3 separate regions of the Homo sapiens genome follow, and regions 1 and 3 are each linked to region 2. The links are contacts of gene promoters, found by promoter capture Hi-C in human tissues and cell types (Jung and others, 2019). All regions are on one chromosome and are shown on one strand. The core of a region is centred on a gene start or on the middle of the fragment in contact, and the rest is flanking DNA. Distances in the headings are between cores, read along the strand shown.

Region 1 (2,703 bases), core at 118-2,617, 280 kb after region 2:
AAAGCTGAGAATCAGCAGAACTATGATGGTTTAGTGAACGTGGGAATTAACGAGCACTCAGCTGATCACAGGAGCCTAGGGGTAGTGGAAAGAAAAGCAAGAGTAGGTCATCATTGCCTTATTTCATAATGCAGAGGCTTCTTTAAATTCACTTGAAGCTCTGTGCATTTCATTAGTTTCTCTGCTCTGTTCTCTGCACAAATGCAGACAGGAGAAAAATAATATTCAACATCCCTCTGAGGACCATAGCTGAGTAAAAAAGATGCTTGTGCTGCCACAAACAGGGGTCCACCTGGAACTCAAGCTTGCTAGTAATTCTGAGAGGTTCCCCTATCCCTGCCTGGCTTGGAGGTAAAGTGATGTCTTTGGGCTACCGTTAAATTCAAACCCTGCAGAGAGTCCTCTTTTGCTCACTCAAGCTTATTTCAAAACGAGCCTCACGCAGAGAGCCCAGATCAGTAGGAAAGACTGACGCTACATTCAGGCACGGAGTTGCTCCCTGCCCTGCTGTTACTCTGTATGTCTTTTGTCCTGTCAAGGCTGAGAAACATTTCTTGGGAGATATCCCATAAAATTTGTCAGAAAACAGGGGAGAGGCAAAAATTAAACACCAAAGTCACTAACTTAAAAGAAAGCAAATGTAATTAGGGGAAAAGAAATTTTCACCTTGTGTCTGTGTTAACAAAGGTATCATCCACTTGGAATAACCCAGATATCATTTTTGTTCCCCAACTACTGTTTACCTTTGCATGTCTCTCATCTGTAATACCACTAGGAATTACACGGCAGTGAGAAGAGGAAATGGGTCAGCCTCCGGCTTTTAAGTAGTTTAGTGAGCATTTATGTAGTACGATTGTAGCAAAAGGGAAAGTAGGCAGCAGAGCAAAAGGGACTCACTCTCTGAGTGAGCAAGTCAAGTTTTTCATTACTTTGAAAATTGCATCAATCTGCAAGGTGCACATGTAATTTACTTATTGTGAATTCCACAACAGCTCTATGTAGTAGTCAAGTTCCTTCCTGCTGATGGGTCAACTCATGGATTCCTCCTTTTATTAGTGTCTATTGTATGCCTCAGCTTTTGCCTCACACAAAATGTGCTAAAACCTCATCTTTGTTCTTATTTGCTGAGACTTAGGTTTAGGAATAACCTTAGGCTTAAAGGATAAGGATTTTGATATCTGGAAATGGCAGGCAGAAAAAGGAGTCACATTCTCATTCTTCTTAACTGCTCTCAAGTCCTGGGAAAAGCAGTCAGCTAGTGACCTGTGCATGCGTCCTGGGCATGGTGACAAATCTGCAATACCAAAGTGGCTTTCTGAAATTTGGTCTAGGACTTGCACTGAATACAATGTCCTCCTCTTTCAGGAAACTGGCAGGGGTACAGCCGTGCTCCTGTCCTGTATTCTCTTGGGAGGCACGCATTATGCAGAGGTTCTCTTCTAAGTGTCACTCATTGAATGGCAATGCAGCTGGCCATGTTGTACTCCCTGGGGCCTCTAAGTCAAAGGAGGAGCCCAGTGGAGGGGGGAAAACAGACTTTTTTTTTTTTTTTTTTCCTGTTCTGGTGACTTAAAACGCTGGACCTTAAAACTTGAATGCATTTCCAGGAGCTTGTGCTGCATTAATATATAAGGGCTACCATAAACCCAAACGGAATCTTTTATCAGGGTGGCCTACTTAACTGCATACCCAAGGAATTGTCCCTGTGTTGGGGTTGGGACAAGAAAGTTGAGAGATGGATTTCAGTATGCTTACCCATTATCAAAAGCCCAGAGTATTAATCTATTTTCTATTACTCTTCTTGTGGGAGAAAAGATGTACCCATTTCTGTTCAAGAAGCAGGACAGCTGCATTTTTAGGTAGCAAAAATCCTCTTGGGAGGATCAAAGCAGATGGTTTCTTTTTATGAGCCATATAAAACTGTCCAGTAAATATTCTCTGCGCTCTCTTTATTTACTGTTATCTGGGCTTATATAAAGATACAAATACACAGGTGAGTTTGCTGTAATATACAAACAACTTTTTGTTCTTGTTAACTGGGCTCAAAAGACAGCACATTTTAATTGACCTGAAGTTATTTCCACCACAACCAATAAAACTGAGACAATTAAAATCTTTTTTTTTTGAGATGGAGTTTCACTCTTGGTGCCCAGGCTAGAGTGCAATGGCGTGATCACTGCAACCTCCACCTCCCGGGTTCAAGCGATTCTCCTGCCTCAGCCTCCCAAGTACTTGGGACTCCCAAGTAGCGTGCATCACCACGCCCAGCTAATTTTGTATTTTTAGTAGAGATGGGGTTTCACCATGTTGGTCAGGCTGGTCTCGAACTCCTGACCTCAAGTGATCCACCTGCCTCGGCTCCCCAAAGTGCTGGGATTACAGGTGTGAGCCACTGCCCTCAGCCAACATCTTCTTTCTTAAACTAGGGTCCTCCAAGTATGAGAAGTGCTCAAACACAGACATTTTCTGTTGTGGCTAGTGGGTGACAGGTGAGCATCCTATCTAAAGGCAGATGGTGGATTTTTTGTACTTCCTCTAAGGCAACAATACAGCTTTAGACTTCTTTGCTAGGAAAGGACATGCAGAAAAGTTGAAACAACAACATACCAAATCACATCGTAAGGTTCTCTTCACTGGGATGTACCATCCTAACTGGAGCTCACGGAAGAAACTCTTAATTTACTGACATTACAGAGCTAATAT
Region 2 (2,700 bases), core at 58-2,557:
GATCCAAAGTAGGAAACCAAAACAAAGTAAAAAATAAGCCTGACAACATGGTAGGTGTTCACTGAATGGGTGCTAGAATTATTAAGACATCGCAGTGATGATAACTCATGTCCTTGCCTAGTCTGACTGATCAGATGGGTTTTGGGAATCATGAACCAGACTAGCCCACCTGACAGAACTCTTTCCTCCCTCAGCAAACAGCATCATCAGTCATTCAAGACAAAAATCTACCAGCTATCTTAGATGCCTCTCACATCTCACTAGCTGACCTTCATTCTTTTTTTTTAACTTTATCTTTTTTTTTCAGGCAGATAAGACTTTCTTTTTTTAGTCTGTTTTTATTATATTGTAATTTTCTTGACTGATTATCACCACCGAATCTCCTGTATGTAGTACAATTCTAGCCATGTAGTAGGAACTCATTAAGACCTATGCTGAATGAATCCACAAATAATTTATTACTAAACATTTTAATTTCAAACGCTAAAAAAAAAAAAAAAAAAAAGCAGTTTTCTCTGCAATTCCTGTCACTGCTCCAAGTTTCTTACAAGAAGGAGGTTAAGGTTTGGGTAGAAGGGGGCCAAAGATGGAAACTGAGGAGCAAGTGTAAGATGCAGAAGAGCTGGAAGACAAAGGGTTGTAGTCAACGAGTGAGCTCTTGGAGTTTAAAGTTTCACAGACAGTACTTACTGTAACTTTAAAATTTCAGACACAGCACTTACTGTAATTTTCTTGTCTCTAAAGCAGGCTTTGAACCTGGATAGATTTGGATAGAACCCCGACTTTGTCATTTGCTAACTGCAAGGCTTTGAATAAACGATTTAATTTCTCTGCGTCTGTTTCCTCATCTGTGAAATGAGGATAACAATACTGTCCACCTTACAACAATGTTAATAATCGGAAAAAGGACATAGGTAACGTGCCTGGCCTGTAGCTCACCAAATATTAGGTGGTGTTGCGATTAAGATGCCTTAGAACAATTCAGTTCTCCGACTCTCTAGACCTGAGGAACCTTCCCAGGGAACCCCTAACTTTCCCAGACCACACTGTCAGATATTCTATAGGCCCCGCCCCTCCAGAGCCTCCGAGTCCTCCCTAGCCCACCCGAGCCCGGTCCCCAGCATTACCTGACCCATAGCGCACGTCGTGTGAGTGCAGTCGGACGTTGTGGCGCGTATTGAGTAGCTTCACCACGGAGCCGCAAGTAACGACACCCAGGCTGGACGCTCCCACAGCGCTCCACAAACCCCCCAACAACAGCAGAGGTACTACAGCCATCCTAACTGTATCGCGGAGCCCCAAATCTTCGAAGAAAACTCGGCCCCTCCCCGGAACCGGAAGCTAATGGCGAAACCACGGAGAGAAGGAAGTGAAGAAGCCCGAGTCTGATCTTTATGGTTTATTTGACTAGAGCGGCCTGAGAAACCGGCTGAGCCTGGTTACTTACGATACTCTCGCTCTGTTCCAGGGGCTCAGTGACAGCTGCCTTCCTGAGCCGCTTCGGTTACCTTTCGCACCCACGAGACGAAAGCTTCCGAGAGCGGGAGAGAGAACAAGAAATGGCCCGCCCACTCCCGGTGACAGGGAGCCGGAAATGACGTAGCACGTTGACGCAGCAGCGGCGGCGGTGGCGGCGGAGGGGCCGTGCGGTGGGTCCGTACTATCTTTTCCCAGTCTCGGTTCGACGACTCCATTTTCCTCGGTGGGGGCTTAGCGCACTGGAGGAGCGGCGGGCTTCAGACAGGTAAAGTTCCGACTGGAGAGCGTGTTTCTCGCAGGAGTCAGGTGGGGAACCGGGCTCCTAGGGCCTGGTCACGTAAGGGAAGAGGCAGTGGGGAGCCGTATGCGGGAAGAAGGGGGAGCCTGGCCTTCCCTGCTCTATGGGGGGAAGGGGGAGGAAAGCGCTGTAGTTGCTCAGAGTCCGAAAGCTTTTCCCAGCCCAGTGACACCCGGAACCCGTGAATCGGGTGGCACGTTGAATCAACAGGCTTCCTGGCATCCCGTCCTTCTCTCCGCAGGTTTTTAAAACTGGGCCACGCAAAAGGATTGGGGATGGAAGGGACCTGGGGCTTCTGAGCCAGGATCAGGTGATCGAGTTGTTTGTTCTGGGGATATGAATCCTGTGGAGCTTTCAGCAGCTCGGCCATCAGGCTAGAGGGCGATGCCAAATTCCAGCTCTTTACATATTGCTGAATAATACAAATAGAACTTTTTGTAGATGGTTGCATCCTTCATCCCTTTCTAAAGATCGAAGGTCTTGTAGAAGTCCTAAAGCCCGTCCATTCTCTATAGATTCATTTCCTCAAACGTTTGCCAGAGGCCTATCATGAACATCAAAATTAGTTATTAAGTCAAAACTCCATCTTCTAGTTTCTACCTTTCTCCTCAGGCACTCCTTTGAACCAGCTGGAGAAGTTAATTTTCCTGGGTTGTTGCAAGAACTGATACTTATTTCAGAGGGCTAAGATCTCTGAAAATACTTCCGTGGAAATTCACTGTAATATCAAAAGTAACAAGGGTGTATGAAGCTACATCATTAATGAGCATTAGGGAGTGTAAACAATATTGAATTTGATTAATTTCTTCGGAAAAATGTCTGGTTCCACTGTTTATCTGGAAGTTACCAGTTTGTAAGTCTTCAGTGTTTTGATTACAGAAACATAACTGCTCTTCCATCAGCTGTGAATTTAGAGCCCTTTT
Region 3 (2,700 bases), core at 198-2,697, 300 kb after region 2:
CCCTCCCCAGAGCCTTTCTTTTCCTGGGTACGAATGACAAATATATGTCCTGGGGTTGGAGCAGGAATGTGATGGAGGAGGGACAGCCAAGAGCATCCATCCCTATTATGCTCAGGAGGCCATCTTGATTACCATCCTGTTCCCACTGCCTGGTTTTGTGCTTAGTACACAGAAGGTACTCCATACATGTTTTTTGAATGAATTAATCAATGCATGCATGCATAAATGGTTCTAGAATGTCTCTTACAGCAATTCTTTCTTAAGGGTTGAGGCCTTTTTTGCTTTTCAAAATCTGGAGAATTTATTCCCTTGGACCATAGGGCCTGGGTCCAGGCAGAGGTTTCCTGCAAAGCTGTGGTAGGGATCCCGGACCCAAAGAGAGGGGCAGGGAAAGGGGGCCTAAGTACTGAGTGAGCAGGGGCTGACTTGGAAGGAGTGACAGCATGGAGGCAGAGAGGGGTAGGGTGTGGGAGAAAGACCCTAGGCCCGAGCCCATCCCCGTGGACCCGCCACCCCCAGTGAGGCCCCAGCAGGCTCACCCTCATAGCGCAGGGCCATGCCTGCAGCTGCCCCGCTGCTGTCAGTACTGAGCTCAACAAAGAAGTGTTTGCCAGAGCTGAGCAGGCCCTCAATGGGCAGGTATTCCACCTCATAGGAATCATACACTGGTGGGGCCTCCACGTTGTCCCCATTGCGAATGATGAGCCTGAACCAGGAGAGTGGCAGCTATGTAGGCTGGTGGCTGACCCAGATGGGGTGTGGCCCCAGGCTTGGGTAGCGTCCCTCCAGCAGGGTATTACCAGGCCAGGCACTCCCATTCCACTAGGACAGCCCCTCACCTGTCATCATCCTCTGCCAGGGAAACCTTCTCAAAGTGCAGGTGTAGCCGCTGGCCCTCAGGAGCCTCAAGCAGCCAGTGACAGGTGAGGTTGTTGCTGTAGTTGCCCGGGAAGCCTGGAGAGACGATGCGGCCGGTGGTGGCATTGCGGATCACTCCGCCGCAAGCAGCTGTTAAGACCAGGACAGGACGTAGGCTAGGCCCCTGCCTGAACCCAGGCAGCCTAACATGCCTTCCTCCCTATCCCAGCCCTATATCCTCTGCTTGGAGCAGCGGGGACCTTGCCTCCCTGCCATCTTGGCCCTCATCGTCCTGAAGGTCAACCTTTTAGCCCTGTGAACCTGCATCTCCAGGCAGCCTGAGCTCCAGAATCCTGCCGCCTAACCTTTCACACCCCTGGGACTGACCAGGGTAACTCTCTTGACTGTGGGTAGATGTATCACTGCCTGGTTGTGTGCCCAGGTAAGTCACTTTCCCTCTCTGCTGACTTCTCTAGAAGGCCGACTCTCCCTAGGTAGACTTTACTAAAGCCCTTACTGTGGGCTTCAACCTTCTTGGATACATCTGCTACTTCTACCTCATGCCACTTTCCTAAAATCAGTTGTTTGGGTATGTCCCTTAACTAGGACCCCCTGGAGCAGGAACCAGGTCTTTCCAGGCCAGGCACAGAGTTGGTGTTCAGCGTTGGTTGAATAAAATGAGTGAATGAATGTAAAAAGGGGTTAGCACTAGATCCGGGCGGCAAACACCTGATGTGCATGCCATCCGCCCCGGCCTCACTACCACTGCCGTTCCTGGGCTGACTGACCTTTCTAGTGCTGACCCTACTGGCTTGGGGCTGTCCTCTCTTTCTAAGGAGAGACTGAACAGTTTGCCTATGGCTATCTGTGAGGATTGCTGGGTTACTTGGCCACAAACTCCTGGCGGTTATGTGAGGCCAGAGAGGGGTCCTCAGGCAAGAGGAGTATGGCTGGTTCCAGGCAGTGCTTTCCTCTCCTGGACACATAGCTCTGACCTACCCAACTCTCAGAGACCAGGCTGCCATGACCAATACACAGGACCTTTGTCTCCAAATGCTCAAGGCAGCAGAATATTGTAACCTAGTAAAGCTCCTGGGGGGCTGGGGCAAGTTTCTTCTCTGCAGAAAGGACAGACCTGCCTCAGCTTGGTCTCAGAATGGAACTGCCCTTCAAATCTGATCATGCCCCATCCTTTGCTGAAAATTGCTTAGTGGCTCCCCATTACCCTCAGGATAGAGTTAAAGCTGAAAATGGTGTTCAAGCCCTTTATGAATCCACCTCTCTCTAGACTCAGCTTCAGTCCCCTCTCCCCGCATACCCTCTGCTTCAGGCACACTTCACTGTGTGCTCACTATCTTGTGCTATTTCATGCCTGCACATCTCTGCATATGCAGTTCCAGGAACCCACCCCACTTTCCCAAACTAATATTTCTGAAATCCTTCCATGCTGTCTCCTTGGGAAGCCTTGCTTGCCTCCTCTCTCATCTTGGAGTAGCTCTCCATCCCTTGGGCTCCTCCACCACTCTGCCTTTACTCCTATTGTAGCATCCTCTGCACTGAGCTGCTTGCCAGCCTCCCCGCTAGATCCTCGAGGGCTGAGAAAGCATCTGTGTTATTCAACTCTGGTTGTGCCTGGCACCCAGGAAGAATTTATAGAATGAAATAAGATTCATGGCTGGGTATGGTGGCTCAAGTCTGTAATCCCAGCACTTTGGGAGGCCGAGGCAGGTGGATCACCTGAGGTCAAGAGTTCGAGATCAGACTGGCCAACATGGTGAAACCCCATCTCTACTAAAAATACAAAAAAATTAGCTGGGTATGGTGGCATGCACCTGTAACCCC

Evidence for each region. The method cuts DNA at HindIII sites, captures the fragments that hold promoters and counts their contacts. A contact is called where the count stands out against the background at its distance.
Region 1: a fragment that was not itself captured here is called in contact with the fragment with the promoter of SDF2 in region 2 in 2 of the 25 tissues and cell types used here (hippocampus and lymphoblastoid cells).
Region 3: a contact is called between a fragment that was not itself captured here and the fragment with the promoter of SDF2 in region 2, in 1 of the 25 tissues and cell types used here (liver).

Annotation. Positions count from the first base shown.
Region 1 is chr17:28,939,503-28,942,205 of GRCh38, forward strand. All of the region lies in intron 2 of PHF12 (PHD finger protein 12), which reads right to left. The region is part of intron 1 of LOC101927018 (a long non-coding RNA gene); the gene reads left to right. Among named protein-coding and RNA genes, the nearest start is that of PHF12, 11 kb to the right of the region's middle. The HindIII fragment of the contact is 9,881 bases long and covers 1-2,703 here.
Region 2 is chr17:28,660,599-28,663,298 of GRCh38, forward strand. SDF2 (stromal cell derived factor 2) reads right to left here and starts at 1,308. Exons shown (of 3, transcript NM_006923.4): 1 at 1,128-1,308. The coding sequence starts at 1,278. It overlaps SUPT6H (SPT6 homolog, histone chaperone and transcription elongation factor), which reads left to right and starts at 1,607. Exons shown (of 37, transcript NM_003170.5): 1 at 1,607-1,744. RefSeq lists enhancers at 995-2,194, 1,556-1,625, 1,723-2,397. The HindIII fragment of the contact is 8,142 bases long and covers 1-2,700 here.
Region 3 is chr17:28,959,966-28,962,665 of GRCh38, forward strand. It overlaps SEZ6 (seizure related 6 homolog), which reads right to left. Exons shown (of 17, transcript NM_178860.5): 6 at 840-1,008; 7 at 540-706. The region is part of intron 1 of LOC105371716 (a long non-coding RNA gene); the gene reads left to right. Among named protein-coding and RNA genes, the nearest start is that of PHF12, 9.8 kb to the left of the region's middle. The HindIII fragment of the contact is 4,967 bases long and covers 1-2,700 here.